Linked DNA regions of Homo sapiens: region 2 is linked to region 1. The links are contacts of gene promoters, found by promoter capture Hi-C in human tissues and cell types (Jung and others, 2019). All regions are on one chromosome and are shown on one strand. Each heading gives the region's core, a stretch centred on a gene start or on the middle of the fragment in contact. The rest is flanking DNA. Distances are from core to core; before and after follow the strand shown.

What was found. The method cuts DNA at HindIII sites, captures the fragments that hold promoters and counts their contacts. A contact is called where the count stands out against the background at its distance.
Region 2: a contact is called between the fragment with the promoter of TRIM55 here and a fragment that was not itself captured in region 1, in 1 of the 25 tissues and cell types used here (lymphoblastoid cells).

Annotation. Positions count from the first base shown.
Region 1 is chr8:66,370,844-66,374,085 of GRCh38, reverse strand. All of the region lies in intron 1 of LOC102724687 (a long non-coding RNA gene), which reads left to right. Among named protein-coding and RNA genes, the nearest start is that of RRS1-DT, 57 kb to the left of the region's middle. The HindIII fragment of the contact is 6,849 bases long and covers 1-3,242 here.
Region 2 is chr8:66,124,955-66,128,440 of GRCh38, reverse strand. It overlaps TRIM55 (tripartite motif containing 55), which reads right to left and starts at 1,312. Exons shown (of 10, transcript NM_184085.2): 1 at 1,005-1,312; 2 at 1-137. The coding sequence starts at 1,172. RefSeq lists a silencer at 1,494-1,766 and an enhancer at 3,482-3,486. The HindIII fragment of the contact is 11,068 bases long and covers 1-3,486 here.

The DNA.
Region 1 (3,242 bases), core at 596-3,095:
TATCCAATAAGTTCATTTATTAAATTTACTAATAAATACTAACAAAAAAATTTATTAGTTTTTTTCTTAATACAAAAATGGCATATTAATTGTAGAAAATTTATGAAGTGCATACAGTGAAAAAATTAATTATAATCCAATCATCAAGATACTGACATTTACATTTTAATAGCAGTCCTCAATTATTTACAAATATGTATAAAGTGTGTGTGTGCGTGTGCACACACATGCATGAGAGTGTGTATGTTTGCAGGTTGCTCAATGCATACTGCTTTGCAACCTACCTTTTTTCCAGGGAAGATTTCTTTTTTGAGAGGGCTGGATAGAGAACAGTGACAAAAAATGTTCTAAAATTTCTTCCTTTAGTGTTGCTTCTGAAAGATGTCAAGATTAGGATTGAGAATTGTGGTCATTGAACAGACTCATCCTCTCTTTCATGCATGTATAACCCAGTGTTCCCTCCATCCTGACTGGCCGAAGTGTATGGTCTAAGGTTCCATGAACTTAGTGACACTTAGCCCCTAAGTGCCCATGTTGGCAGGTAGCCCAGACTTTGCAACTCTGGGGCCCACTAAAGATTGATTCCTTCTTTACCCTGTATCTTCACTCGCCTTCTCTCCAATGGCTGATTTCCATCAGCATTCAAACATGCTCAAGCCTCTCTATTCATCACTCATCACCTTGGTTCTTTCTTCAACATATTCTACTCAGTAAATGGCATCCACAGAGTTGCTCAGGTCAAAAAGCTAGGACTCAATCTTAATTCTTGTTTTCCTTTCTCCTACGTTCAATCCGTGAACAAATTCTGCAGGCTTTATCTCTAGAGAGTACCTCTGATGCCTCTACTTTTCTGCATCTTCACTGTTACCACTCTAGAGTAAGCCACGATTGATATTTGCCTAGATATGCGAGTAGTCTGCTTAACTAGTTTCTCTACAGCCTCTTCTCCACATAGCAGCCAGTGAAGCCTCTGACAAACCCAAGCCCAATATGTCTTTCCTCTGCAGAAAGCCCATCAATGGCTTCCTGCACATTGAGAAGAATACTACATTCTTTATCATAACCTACAAGGCCCCTTCATAGGCAGGTTCTGTCCACATTTCTGCATTTGCCTCATTTACTTTCTCCTTCATTTGCTCTGGCTTTTTTACGGTTTTTTGAAAATTCCCATTTCTTTTGCTGCAAAGGAAGCTTCATCAGGGAAGAGACTGTGACTGTCTTCTTCATTGCTGAAGCATCACTGTCTATCCCAGTTCCTTGAGCACAATAAGTATTCTATGCGTGTTTTTTAACAAGTAGATGAATTTATGACCTAGTGAGGATGATCAAAATAAGTGCATAATCTTTAAAAATGCAAAGTCAAATGTGGTAAGTTTCTTAAGAGAGACTTGATTTAAGTAGTCTGGGAATTTATGGAGGGGTGCTGTGGTTTGAATTTTATGTCTCTTCAAAATTCACGTTGAAACCAAATCCCCAATTTGGTGACATTAAGAGGTGGGCCTTTAGGAAGTGATTAGGTCATAAGGGTTCCACACTCATGAATGGGATTAGTGCAACTGTAAAAGAGGCTTGGGCCAGGCATGGTGGCTCATGCCTGTAATCCCAGCACTTCGGGAGGCCGAGGTGGGCAGATCACTTGAGGCCAGGAGTTTGAGACCAGCCTGGCCAATGTGGTGAAACTCCATCTTTACTAAAAATACAAAAATTAATGGACATGTTGGTGCACACCTATAGTCCCAGCTACTCGGGAGGCTGAGGCACGAGCATCTCTTGAATCTGGGAGGTGGAGGTTGCAGTGAGCTGAGATCATGCCACTGCATCCAGCAGCTTGGGCAACAGCAAGACTCCGTCTCAAAAAAAAAAAAAAAAAAAAAAAAGAGGCTTGAAAGAGCCTGTTTCCCCTTCTCCTATGTGAGGACACATCTATGAGGAAAAGGCCTTCACCAGACACTGAATCTGCTGGCACCTTGATCTTGGACTTCCAGTCTCCAGAACTGTGGACAATAAATTTCTGTTGTTTATAAATTACCCAGTTTAAGGCATTTTGTTATAGCAGCTTGAGCAGATTAAGACAAGGATGTGCTTACTCTGGATGGCAGTCACTGAGGACTTATGGATGAGGAAATATTTGAGCTGGATATCAAGGGTACATAAGACTCTCCAGGCTCGAGTAAAGCAGCAGAGTCTGGAGAGGGGGACAACTAATCCAGAGGAATCAGGAAATAAAGTATATGTAACATACCTGTACAGATTAGGGCTGGAAAGGTAATTCTGGATCTGATCATGTGGTGTCTGTTCTGGTCATGCTGAACATGCTAGGCTAAAATGTTTAGACAGTTCATCTCATGAAGGAAGCACCTCCCTATGCCCCAGGGAGCAAAATGATCACAGACATAAGGAGAAACATTGGTTCATGTTCTTAGATGGTCAACAGTGGAATGAATGAAAAAAGAAGGAACAGATGTGAGGTTTACCCTTTAAAAACCATCAATAGGAATTGGTAACTGATAGAAAGTGACTAAGTATGAGATGAAAAACCAAATGCAGACTTGAGCTTGGGTGACTCAGAAAATTGATAGAAATAGAAAATCATGAAAAAAGGATTTTTTGTGTGTGTGTGTGTGACAGAGTCTCACTCTGTCACCCAGGCTGGAGTGCAGTGGTGCGATCTTGGCTCACTGCAACCTCCACTTCTCTAGGTTCAAGTAATTCTCCTGCCTCAGCCTCCTGAGTAGCTGGGATTACAGGCATGAACCACCATGCCTGGCTAGCTTCTGTATTTTTCGTAGAGATGGGGTTTTGCCATGTTGTCTAGGCTGGTCTCAAACTTCTGATCTCAGGTGATCCACATGCCTTGGTCTCCTAAAGTGTTAGGATTACAGCTGTGAGCTACCATGCCTGGCCTGGGTTGAATCTTGTTGAGTTTAAGGTAGCAATGAGCCATCCAGTTTGTGATGGAATTTGGGAGTAGAGGAAAGATAGAGATATAATTTTCACTAATTAATTCATTTGTCCAGTGATTATTTCTTGAGCATCTAGCATATGCCAAGTATGGTATCAGGCATTGGGAAAAGCATAAATCCTGTCCCTAGGAGTTCCCTTTTTCTATATCTAGCTTTTTGACCCAGAAAGACATGCCTCTGTTGATACAGAATTTCAAATGATCAAGATCAACAATGTAATTATTTGAATGTGCATGGATGTTTATATTTCTCAGTTCTGCTATGATTATAGGCTTGTAT
Region 2 (3,486 bases), core at 63-2,562, 250 kb after region 1:
TCCACCAGCAGGTTCCTCTGAAGTCCATATACCCCATGTCTATCCAAAACCACTTCATGTCTACAGGATGGGCAGCGGAATCGGCCCCCTGATGCCATGGTGGTACCTCCTCTTGTGGGCAAATACGGGTTAGAGGCCTGTTCTTGCCAAGTAAGAAAAAAGGAATTGGGTAATGCCACAAGCAGCTTCTCTGAGACTTATTTTCACTCTCTGCTACTACAAACAACATGAACTTCTACTTTAAGCTTGCCATAAGATCATCCCTCAGGGCTTTCTCAGCAAGTGGTCCTGAAACACAGGGTCAGACCTTATCCACAGTCATCTGCGAATATACCATTGTCCACGTAAGGTGCTTTTCCGTCCACCACTTTCAGAACCAAAAGTTCCAGCCAGAAACTCCACACTCATGTCTTCAGCAGTTACTCATTTATAGTTTTGAAACACATTAAATGGTTTGACTTAAAAAAAAATATGATTCTTAGTATTAAAATAAAACTAGATTTGGGAGTAAAGAGGACACAAACCAAATCATTAAAAGAAACGTGTTTTTCTTGAAAGTAAATGCAACTTTATAAAGTTTTTTTGTTTGTTTGTTTTTCTTTTTTTGAGACAGAGTCTTGCTCTGTTGCCCAGGCCGGAGGGCAATGGCACGATCTCCGCTCGCTGCAATGTCCGCCTCCTGGGTTCAAGCAATTCTCCTGCCTCAGCCTCCCAAGTACCTGAGATTATAGGTGCCCGCCACCATGCCCAGCTAATTTTTTTTTTTTTGTATTTTTAGTGGAGATGGGGTTTTGCCATGTTGGCCAGCCTGGTCTCGAAGGCCTGACCTCAGGTGATCCACTGGCCTCAGCCTCCCAAAGTGCTGGGACTACAGGCGTGAGCCAAAGCGCCCGGCAACCTTATAAAGTTTTTTAAAGGATTTCACCTCAATGTTAAGCACTTGATTCCAAGAGGAGGGAATCTTTTCCACCCCCTCCCCTCAACCAAATTCCAAACAAACCTACCTGGAAAATATCACTGGCACATTTCCTACACAGGTTGTGCTGACAAGGGAGAATCACCACAGGTTTCGTGAACATCTCTAAGCAGATGGGACAGATGAGTTGCTTCTCTAAGTTATCCATGGTCTGCTGCTCTTTGGAAAAAGATTTGTAATTCAGAGATGCGCTCATCTCCTCGCTGTCCCCAAGTGTGCTGCCAGGGAAGGGTGCTGCGAGTGGCTCCAGCAAGTGTTTCCTGGATATTATTCCAGGGATTGTGTGATCAAGTGTCCTTTACGTTTCTCTCGGTGGAGGACATTGTTTCAGGCCCTGGTTTGGAGTGGGTGCTGGAGCTGTTTTTAGCAGCCTGCGGTCACGTGACGGTGGGCTGACGTGTCCATATAAGCCAGTGACAGGAGGATGGATCCTGACAGGTGACGGAGAGCAGGAGTCAACATTCTTGCCCCAGGGAGTGAAGAGAGTGGGTGGGAAGGAGGATTACAAACCCCATTTAGACGGGGTTGTGAGGAGAAGGAGGTCGAAGCTGACAGTTGTCAACAACAAATGCAAATGTGCATGCCTAGCCACTGAACCATGCCCTCTGTGAGCACTCACTGAGAACTTGGCGATGGCTTCTCCAGGAAGGGGCAGAACGCAGCACAGAGTCTGTGTAACTAATGCCAGCCCTGTCTTGAGAGTGTAGGAATTGAGTCACGGAAAGTAGCCTAATAGCACCTTCTTAGGTGAAAATGAACAAAACATGTCTCGAAAATTGTTATCCTGGCTTCACAAAGGCAATCATCAAAAAGACTTTCTTAATGTTAAGTATTTCATCTTTGTCAGCTGGGGTTGTGGTCTTTGAAAAATTCCAATTTAAAAGCTAAATTCAAATCCCTTCACCATAAAGGTATCCACCTAATAAATAAATAAATACATGCATAAATAAAAATTCAAAACCAGTGGATGATCTAATTATTTGAGAAAAAAGTTACATTATAAAACAACTCTAGTATGCTGTTTGCTCTTCCACATTGCTTTCCTCTTCCTTGGCCCTCTTTCATCCTATACTGCCCCACCTCCTACATACACCCAAAAACACAAAGAAAATTTGATAGTCTTTTACTGATTATTTAAATTCTTAAATTATATAATAGTTTGCAACAATAATCTGTAATGAGGTAGTAACTGGCAGGCACCTGGAGGTGGCAGATCTATTATTTTATTTTGTCATCCCTTGGGGGACAGTTACCAGTGCCATTGACAACTGAAGTATAAATGGAGTCCTACTTCCATATCTGCATTTCATCTGCCTCCAAAATACCTATTCTCCCTTGCATTTCCCCTTCCTCCAAGGTGACTTGTTAAACCATAGTTTCTCTGGTCATTTCTGATATTCTTGGTCTGCTCTTGAGTCATAAACATCGATTCTGACATTCATCAGGATTTTGTGAAGCAACAGTTTAACCAATACATATTGTATTTAAAAATGTTTAAATCAGATCAAAAATAAAAAAGAAATCCAAGTCTGTTTATATGTGATAAATTTCGGCTTTCTTTCTCCTTCATTTTAAAAACCTTGGGCAATAAACACATTTTGTTAACATATCCCTGGTGTGAATTAAATTACCAGTGAAGTGTAGGTCAGTTATGTGTGGTCTTAGTGCTGTGTGCACGGAGAGCTTATTGAGAATCTAGTAAGCTCTATTAACTAATAATAAGTTATATATATTCATAAGCATATCAGGGATCTTTAGAGAATTATCTTAGTCCTTTCAATATTTATTTAGCAACTACAGGGAGGACGGGAACTGGTAAAGTTTTTTTACTGAGTTACTTTGGTTCACCCAGCCTAGGCAGTTAATTGTGTTTATCAATTCATGGGCTATGGAGGGGAGGTCTGAGTACAATATGTGGGATATTTTCTAGGAAAGATTAAGTTTCTACTGCAAAAGACCTTGCTATCTAAGTAAAAGCACTTAGACTAATCATGCACATTGCAGCAGAGTCTTTTCTTTTAGAAGGAATTCATTCCTTCAAAATACATTCATTGGATATGTGTAGTGTGTCTCCATTGTGTGAGGCTCTGGGTATTGAAAGATGAACAAGACATAGGTCATTGGCCTCAAGGAGCTCAGTATAAGAGTGGAGATGAGACATGCACACACAGAACATAGTACAAAATAAAATGTGATAAAGAGTACAAGCCAAAAAGTACCTGAGACAGGTCTCAATCGAGAAAGTTTGTTTTGTCAAGGTTAAGGGCGCGTGCCAGGAGGCAGGCCTGCATCTTTCTCCAAAGAAGATTTCGAAGGCTTTAATATTTAAAGGGAAAAGAATGGATATTGGGGAAAGAGAAAAAAAATTTCAGTTGTGGGTAGATAAGAGGCAAACAGTTGCATTCTTCTGAGTCTTTGATCAGCCTTTCACCAAATACATAATTTACATGTTGGGGCTGGGCGGTGGGTAGAGGAATAATAGTCATTTATGTCTTCCTTTAGCTCAGTGA